Linked DNA regions of Homo sapiens: region 2 is linked to region 1. The links are contacts of gene promoters, found by promoter capture Hi-C in blood cells and fetal thymus (Javierre and others, 2016). All regions are on one chromosome and are shown on one strand. Each heading gives the region's core, a stretch centred on a gene start or on the middle of the fragment in contact. The rest is flanking DNA. Distances are from core to core; before and after follow the strand shown.

Evidence for each region. The method cuts DNA at HindIII sites, captures the fragments that hold promoters and counts their contacts. A CHiCAGO score of 5 or more calls a contact.
Region 2: a fragment that was not itself captured here is called in contact with the fragment with the promoter of OR10A7 in region 1 in 1 of 17 cell types (non-activated CD4 T cells); the score reaches 5.8 in non-activated CD4 T cells.

The regions. Positions count from the first base shown.
Region 1 is chr12:55,219,677-55,223,731 of GRCh38, reverse strand. It overlaps OR10A7 (olfactory receptor family 10 subfamily A member 7), which reads right to left and starts at 2,707. Exons shown (of 1, transcript NM_001005280.1): 1 at 1,757-2,707. The coding sequence starts at 2,707. The coding sequence ends at 1,757. The HindIII fragment of the contact is 4,903 bases long and covers 1,703-4,055 here.
Region 2 is chr12:54,650,371-54,654,543 of GRCh38, reverse strand. No RefSeq gene overlaps it. Among named protein-coding and RNA genes, the nearest start is that of DCD, 4.1 kb to the right of the region's middle. The HindIII fragment of the contact is 1,656 bases long and covers 875-2,530 here.

The sequences.
Region 1 (4,055 bases), core at 1,458-3,957:
TATCTTAAATATTTTTTTGGTCTCATAATTGTTATATATAACATCATGTTGTACACTCTAAATATATACAAGTTTTAATTGTCAAGAATATACTTCTTTTTACTGTGCTAGTTTGTTGGACACATTAACATGCACTACTAAATTTATTTTATAACCTCACAATCTACTTGTGAGTCACATGCAGCTGGTAGAAAACCATCATAATGGAGTCTTATGAGATGGTTATTGAACTTAGTTACATTAATTCAAGAATATCTGAGTTAGGCTTAAAAATTAAGAGATTATTGAAGGAGAAAGATTTAAAGGAATAGTTTTTTTTTTTTACCTCAAACTCCCATTACATGCAATAAATATGTACTTCAGCAAATCAAAATTAAACTAAAACAGTCAATACAAGTTGGAAATTTGTGGTGGCTTTTAAATTTTTCTGAAAATTAACAAAGAAACATGGAGGTTTGTTACTGCTTGAAGAAGAAACTGTACAATTAACAGAAACCTTGGTTAAGGAAGATTTACGGGAACATATATTATTGTTCCAGTTGCATTCTCAAAGCCGATATAAGCTTATTCTACTGGAAATATAAATTTTGCATAATTAAATTTGACAATCTTGTCTTCTCCATTGTTTTGAAAGCCAAATTCCCATGTAGGTGGCAACTTTAACTTAATAAAAATGTGACTAGACATTTTTAAGAGGTTAATATATTGAATTTCAAATTCAAAAGGGTCTGACTCAAACTATTGTGGCCACATCTCAATAGCTTTTGCCTTACCAAGTTACTTACATTTTCTGATTGTAATTTATCTTTTATGAAAAATATAGATATAATAATTATCTCTTGAGTTGTTGCAAGGGCATGTGTCAAAGACAGTTCCTCAATAAACCATGTTTGCTACTACTATTACTCTTTTGCTTTACTCTGGTGTCAAGCAAATATTTCTTGTTTAAACTCTAAGAAGAGCTTACTATTAAATAATTAATGGATAATTTAGCCAATGACTAAAAAAGTCCAAAATCATGTCACCAAATATTAATACTAAGGTAATTTTATTAAATAACTTTATTTAAACATACAACCCATATAAAGAATTTGTATTATGGACTCTTGGCATCTGCAAAACTTTACCTTTTATAATTTTTGTAAGGTTAGATGCCATGATTCGTTGTTACACTGCAATAGCTGCAGAATATACAGTGGTTTGTGGTGGCTGTTCTTACTTATCTTTCATAACTTTCCTTACCCTTTTTCATCCTGCTCTGTGCCCCAGGAGACTCGCATTTATACATTGCATCAACATTCTTGTCCCCATGTTGTATTTGGTTTGGCTTAGAACAGAAGCCAGCAATAGATTTGAGAGAGTCAGATCAAAATAAGGTTGGGATGGCTGCCTTGCTGTACTAAAGAACAGAGATCCTATCAGGTGATTTTTTTTTAATAGTTGTAGCATTCTATTGGTTCCAGTTAACACTCCTTCTACTTGCCCCTTCAGGCCAAGAAGTGTAAAAGTTCTGTTGTATGATCTGTGTGGCTATTACCTAACCTTGTTCACAATTTCTAAATAGCCCTCTCATAAAGCGTTTTCTCACTTATCCCAATTCAGGAGTACCATCTCTTTCCTGCTAGGAACCTGAATGATACACAGAAATGCACCCACCAGTTAGTGATGAAATAAGAGCAACTCTTCCATTCCGTTTTAAGCTTTGGTTAGTAGGTTCTGCTGTCCCTACTTTGGAAGCATTCTTACACAATAGAAGTCAAAACACATCTAACTTCTGTAAGACTTTTTGAGTGATTGTCCTCTTGACAGCCCCTTTCACTTCATTGTTCCTCAGGCCGTAGATGATGGGGTTTAGCATAGGTGTGATGACAGTGTAGGACAATGACACTAGCTTCTTGCTCTCAGGGGACTGGTTTGATTTGGGCCGCAGGTAGGTCAGACTGGCTGTTCCGTAGAAGAGGGACACCACAATGAGGTGTGAGGAACAAGTAGAAAATGCCTTCTGGCGGCCAGTGGCAGAGGACATCCTCAGAATTGTTATGATAATGCGGGTGTAGGAAACCAAAATGAGACAAAAGGGAAACATGATAAACAGGAGTGTGGAGGCAAGTGCTTGCATTTCATACATGGTTGTATCCACTGTGACTAGTTTTAACACTGGGGGACCATCACAGAAAAAGTGGTCCACGGCATTTGGTCCACAGAAAGGAAGGGCCATCATCCAAGCTGTCTGTAGCATAGACACAGGAACACCGGACATCCAAGAGCCTATGGCCATCCACAAGCATAGGGACCTGTTCATTATGACTGAATAATGGAGAGGGTTACAGATGGCCACAAAGCGATCATAAGCCATCATGGAGAGAAGGAAACATTCAGAACTGCCAAAGAAGAAGAAGAAGTACATCTGGGTACCACAGCCCACAAAAGAGATAATTTTCCTTGGGGACACTAGATCTACAAGCATTTTTGGCACCATAACCAAGGTGAAACATACTTCAAGAAGTGACAGATTTTGAAGAAAGAAGTACATGGGTGTTTGAAGTGCGAGATCCACACTGGTAACTGTGACAATAAGAAAGTTGCCCAACAAAGTGACTGTATAAATGGCCAGGAAAAAAATAAAGAGGGAAACTTGCATCTCGGGGTTGTTTGTAAAACCAAGAAGAATAAATTCAGTGACTCTGGTGTGATTTTCACAGATCATATCTTAGATGAGTTTCTCTCTAAAAATCAAAGTATGTGCATCAAAGGGTATTAAATCAATATAGAGGTAATCTCAAAAATAATAATAACATCCATAAAACATCTTTATTCTCAGTTGTCTTACCATTCTGTTTCTCTGAAGCAGAAATGATGTTTATGATAAGATAAAATTAAGGAAAAATAAACATTCTGTATAAATCTTACTCATTGTTTACCACCTAGATGTAATTTTTTTCTCATGAGTAGTCATAGTCTGTGCTCATATTCTTCAACGTAGGCATGCTATTTTGTAGGATAAAGTGGAAAGAGTGTAGATAGATAATTAAAATAGAATAGTGTACTAATTTTTAAATGATTTCAGGATGCAATAAAGATAAATAATGGGCTAGTTTGACATTCTAATATTTAATTATATTAATCACATTTCTACTGAATATAGTACATTTTATACCATTCATCCACTATAAATATATACATATACCAACATGCCCAGTACACACACACACACACACACAAGAAACTTAATAAATAAACATAATATATGCTTATGATTTTGGTGCTTCTCTGTAGTCTCCATCAGCCTAATAGTTTATGACATTTTTATATTGTCTTTTGAACCATAACTCAACTTCACTGGGCCCCCACTTCTTATTATACATAGAGTTATAGTTATATTGTTTAAGCTATATTTTTTAAAAACTTCCAAACAAATATGACTTACAATAGAGAAATATCCTCCCAACACTCATCTTAACTTTTCTCTGCCAAAATAGTTCCTCTCATGACTGTCCATCTTCTTTAAAACTTCATGATCAGAAGTAGGGTACATATACTTACTTTTGTATGTCAGCTGATCCAGTCCCAAAAGCACTAATTCAACCATTACAAACTCAAATACTATATCTTACTTAGAGCAAAATATTTTGGCCAACATTAAATTATGCAATTGTTTTCTTTACAGGAGGTCATTCTTAGTACCAAAATTTAGCAATTACAGGAGGATGTGTTAGAAAAATAATTTTTTCCAAATATTAGAACTGGGTAAATATCGTATCAATTATTTTACATACTTTTTAAATTTAATTCAGAAAAAAATGCATATTTCATTTTATAGTCAAAATAATTTAAAATAGATATCCGCTCCTGAAGTCAGTAGGTAAAAACTTACAGTGTATGGAATCATTCTGAAACTGTGGCTCATTTAAATAATTCTATGTTTTAATTCTACTCTTAAGACATGTAACATCTTACCTGTGTATTTTCCATATTGTAAGTTCTCAAAGGAATGTCCTCAGTAGCAAAAAGAAAGGAACAACTCTGGTGATTTCAGGTTTCCCATGCCCTTGTAA
Region 2 (4,173 bases), core at 453-2,952, 570 kb after region 1:
ATTTGTCACAAATAAGCCAGAACTTCTACATCTAAATGAGCACCACATTCTTCAAACTAGTCACCTTGGGAAGCCATACTCACCCCAAATGGGCTTTCATTGCTCCAAAATTATCTGCCCTTTTGAATCGATTTTCAGAACCTGTTTAGAAGCCAGACGAGAATGGGAACCTTATGATGAAATAACCGAGTAGAGTTTTCAACCCAAATGCCTCTCCACTTTATTCCTCAATCTTGGTTCTTAATGACCATTTCCAAATATTAATTTGATTTTTAGAGGTACATGATGTGTCACCTGGAAATTATTCAAAGCCAGGGACATTGATTCTGAGGATGCTTTTTCTGGCAATTGCCTATAAAATTCAGGCAGTTAACCTTTTGACATTTGACCAAGATGACTGGTTAGCTTCCACCAGCTCAGAGAAACAAGGCATTACTGTAGTGCCAATGGGTGCGTAACAGAAACAGCAGTGAAGTCAGTTAGGATCAGCGTGAGATGGCCAGGTAAAGGCCCTTATGTCCGCCCAGATACAGGAATCAACCTTCCATCCTCGTAAATGCAGGGTCACCTCCTCCCTCTGTGTTCCACATTCCCCACCCCACTGTCTAGGATAGGACACTGTACCCAGATAGGGAAGAATGAAGAACAGGGGAAGAACATGCAGAACAGGAGAAGGGGCAGATTAGCACCCCAGCAAGCACCAGGGTCTACAACCAGGTGTCCACGGACAATTGCCCCCTCAAGGAAGCCAGAGAACTGGAGTGTTTTTCTTTAACCACATCCAGGAGAAAAGGAATTGCAGTCTTCTGGGTACCATCCCTGCCCCCATTCCCATCCCATGCCTCCCTCTCCATAATGAGTAACAGGCTAAGCTTGGTAATGAATATTACAGACTTGTTTTAAATTCATGAAAAGCATCTTTTTTAAGTGTTGGGGGAAAAAAGGTATTTACCTTACAGGCCTCTGCTCCCTCCCCACAATTCCTGGGAGTACCTCCTCCTTTCTTTCCTGAGGCCCAGGTAGGGAAGGGAGGCAAGGAGGAGTACCGAGAAACTGCTCCTTGGCAGTGCTGATTGCAGAACCCTGAGGTTCCTCCTCCTGGAATCTCCTCCTGGAAAATACTTGTGCAAATAGCAAGAACTGTTCCTGAGGGCTGTGTAATGATCTGTCCGAGATGACGTTCCTACTGAGAAGGGAGCATCGCCCTCTGCCTTCATGTACCTCCCACTCAAATGTGCGTGCGCACACACACACACACACGCACACACATGCACACACATGTGCCCTCCCCATACTCAAGCCTCTCCATCTCCGGCCCTATCACTCACTTGATTTCAGATCTTCAGGAATGGAGCACTTCCTCTCCCTCACTTTCCTGACCATAATGCCCCTGAGTGCTTCCTCTAACGTTTCCCCTCTTCTCAACATCCCTGAACTGCTTCAGACCTTCATTTTTCCCTTCTAGGTACTCCTTTATGGGTCATATTAATATCGAATTATTTAGCATAACTTTATTTCCAAGCCGAGACTATGAGCTCCATGAGGGTGGATACCAACTCATACTTATCCCTCAGATGCCAGTACCCAGTACCTGCAAAATGAATGAAGCCCCTGCCTACCTTTCTCTGAATTCTCCTTGCCCTGCACAGATCTCCACTGCCCACCTTTGATATTAGACTTAATTCACCTCCTGACTCCCAACTCTTAACCACATTATTCCCACACTGGACTTCTGAACCTACCTGACCTTTTCTTTCTGAGGAACCAGCTGGAAGACATCAGTTAAACAGAAACGGATTCTGTCCAAAGGCAAGTATTCCCCATATCTTAATCTTTCTTCTGGGCCCTTCCTGGGGAATCACTCGATGAAGTGCATGAAAATTGAAGGCCCAGTGCTGACTCTTTTCACCACGGAACACCAAAGAGACTCTCCACACCTTTGAAAACATGCAAGCTCTCTTTCCTGACCCAAGGATGCTTCTATGGCCTGAATTGTCAGGTTTCTACAGGCATAAGCCCACATTACAAGACAGAGAAAGAAAGCTATCAAGCTAGGGTTGAATAAACCCCACAGATATTCCAGCAATGAGTGCATTAAATTGAGAAACTGAAGCGAGAGGATCGCTTGAGCCCAGAAGTTTGAGGGTGCAGTGAGCTATGATGGCATCTCTACACTCCAGCCTGGATCACAGAGCAAGATCCTGTCTCTTAAAATAAAAAAAGAGTGTATTTAAAAAGCAGTTCAGCTTGCCTCTAGGAGCTGGGGCAGGTATCACCTGGGAAAAGGCAGGAGGAAATTTTCTGGGTTACTGGTAATGCTTCATATCTTGATTGGAGTCTGGGTTACATCAGTAGATGCATTTGACAAGACGAAAAAATACAGTTAATATGTATGTTTCATTGTATAGTTTCATTGTATGTAAGTTTTACCTCAAAGAAAAAAACTACAAACAAATATTAAATAGTTTCTTAAAAAGCAGCTTGGCATATCTCTTTCCAACAGATTAATGTTATTAGTCTAATCTAAGCTTTATCCACCAGTCCACATCTCTTGCCCAAATTCTGAAGGTTTCTAGCCCCACTCACTTGTAGGTTTCTAGCTGCACTTCACCAAAAGTTACTGCATTCTAACTGTGTGTCTGGCATCCTCACTGGGGCTGGGGTGCACAGACAAATTAAACATGGTCCTGCACTGCACAGCTGAAGTCTAGTGTGGAAAACCAAGCACTAAACAGACAATCCCAATACCATCGAGGTGATGCACAGATAAAGAGAAGAGCAAGGGGCTGGTGGAAGTGCATAGCCCAGAACTCTGACTTCACTTTGGTGGGGAGAGGAAGGAAGACAAGAAGAATGCCCAGAAAATCTTCCAGGGGCTGGGCCCACTGGCTCAAGCCTGTAACTGCAGCACTTTGGGAGCCGAGGTGAGCGGATCACGAGGTCAAGACATCGAGACCATCAAGACCATCCTGGCCAACATGGTGAAACCCCATCTCTACTAAAACTACAAAAATTAGCCAGGGGTGGTGGTGGGTGCCTGTAGTCCCAGCTACTTGAGAGGCTGAGGCAGGAGAATCGCTTGAACCTGGGAGGCGGAGGTTGCAATGAGCTGAGATTGCACCACTGCACTCCAGCCTGGTGACAGAGCGTGACTCCGTCTCAAGAAAAAAGAAAAGAAAAAAAGAAAATCTTCCAGGAAGAAGGTATTTCTGATCTGAATCTTAAAGGATGAGTAGGAAAAAGCTCTGTCATCTAATCGTAGGAGGGCATTAAAGACAATACACGGAGGAAAATACGTGAAGAGGCAGAAGCAAGAAAAAATTAAATCTATGCAAGAAACTGAAAGAAATTTAATGTGACTGAGGCAGAGTCTTGATGAGGGAATGAGAAGGGTTGAAACTGAAGGGACGGACAGAAGCCAGCTCATGAAAGATGGTGTGTGCTCTGCACATAGTTTGTCTACTATAAATCACTTAGACAGCTGGGAGTTTGAACTTGAGACTGTCAGAGGGAAAACCATTTGTGAAGCTGTTTCTTCAGTGAACATAAAAAATGGCAAGGCCCCCAGGCAGAGGCTTCTGAGCCAGAGCCCTGGGATTGACAAAGAGGCAGAACTTCATAGACCCCGGTGTCCTTGTACATAGGGGGCCAAGAGGAGGAAAAATGTAAAATTACTCTCAGATCTCTATTTAGATAACTGGGTGAATGTCAATACTGTTAATCAGAATGGAAAATGGTGCAGGAGGAGGAGCAGGTGATGGGGAAGATGTGGGGAACGTAGGTGAGGCCAGTTGCAACCCCTAGGGTTCATCAGTGCATTACTGCCCATCCATTAGTGGATATTAGTGTTCAGGAGAGAGGTCTGGGCCGGAATGAAGATGTGGGAGCCAGGAAGTGTGACTCCAAGAATGAGTCACACAGGAGAGTTTGTAAGAGGAGAGAAGAAAAAGGCTAAGAATAGAACACTGGAGAATATCAAAGGGGCAGGCAAGGTGAGTCAAAGTGGGACTGAAGGGTGGCCCAAAAAAGGAGAGAAAGAAAGAAAACCCCAGCACCTCAAAAGATGAGTGGCTCTAACAGTGTCAGAGCCCACCGAGATCAGATAAGATAAAGGCTGAAAAGTGGCGACTGTATCCGAGTACCTTGGCAAGGATGTATCTCGGTTCCAGGGAT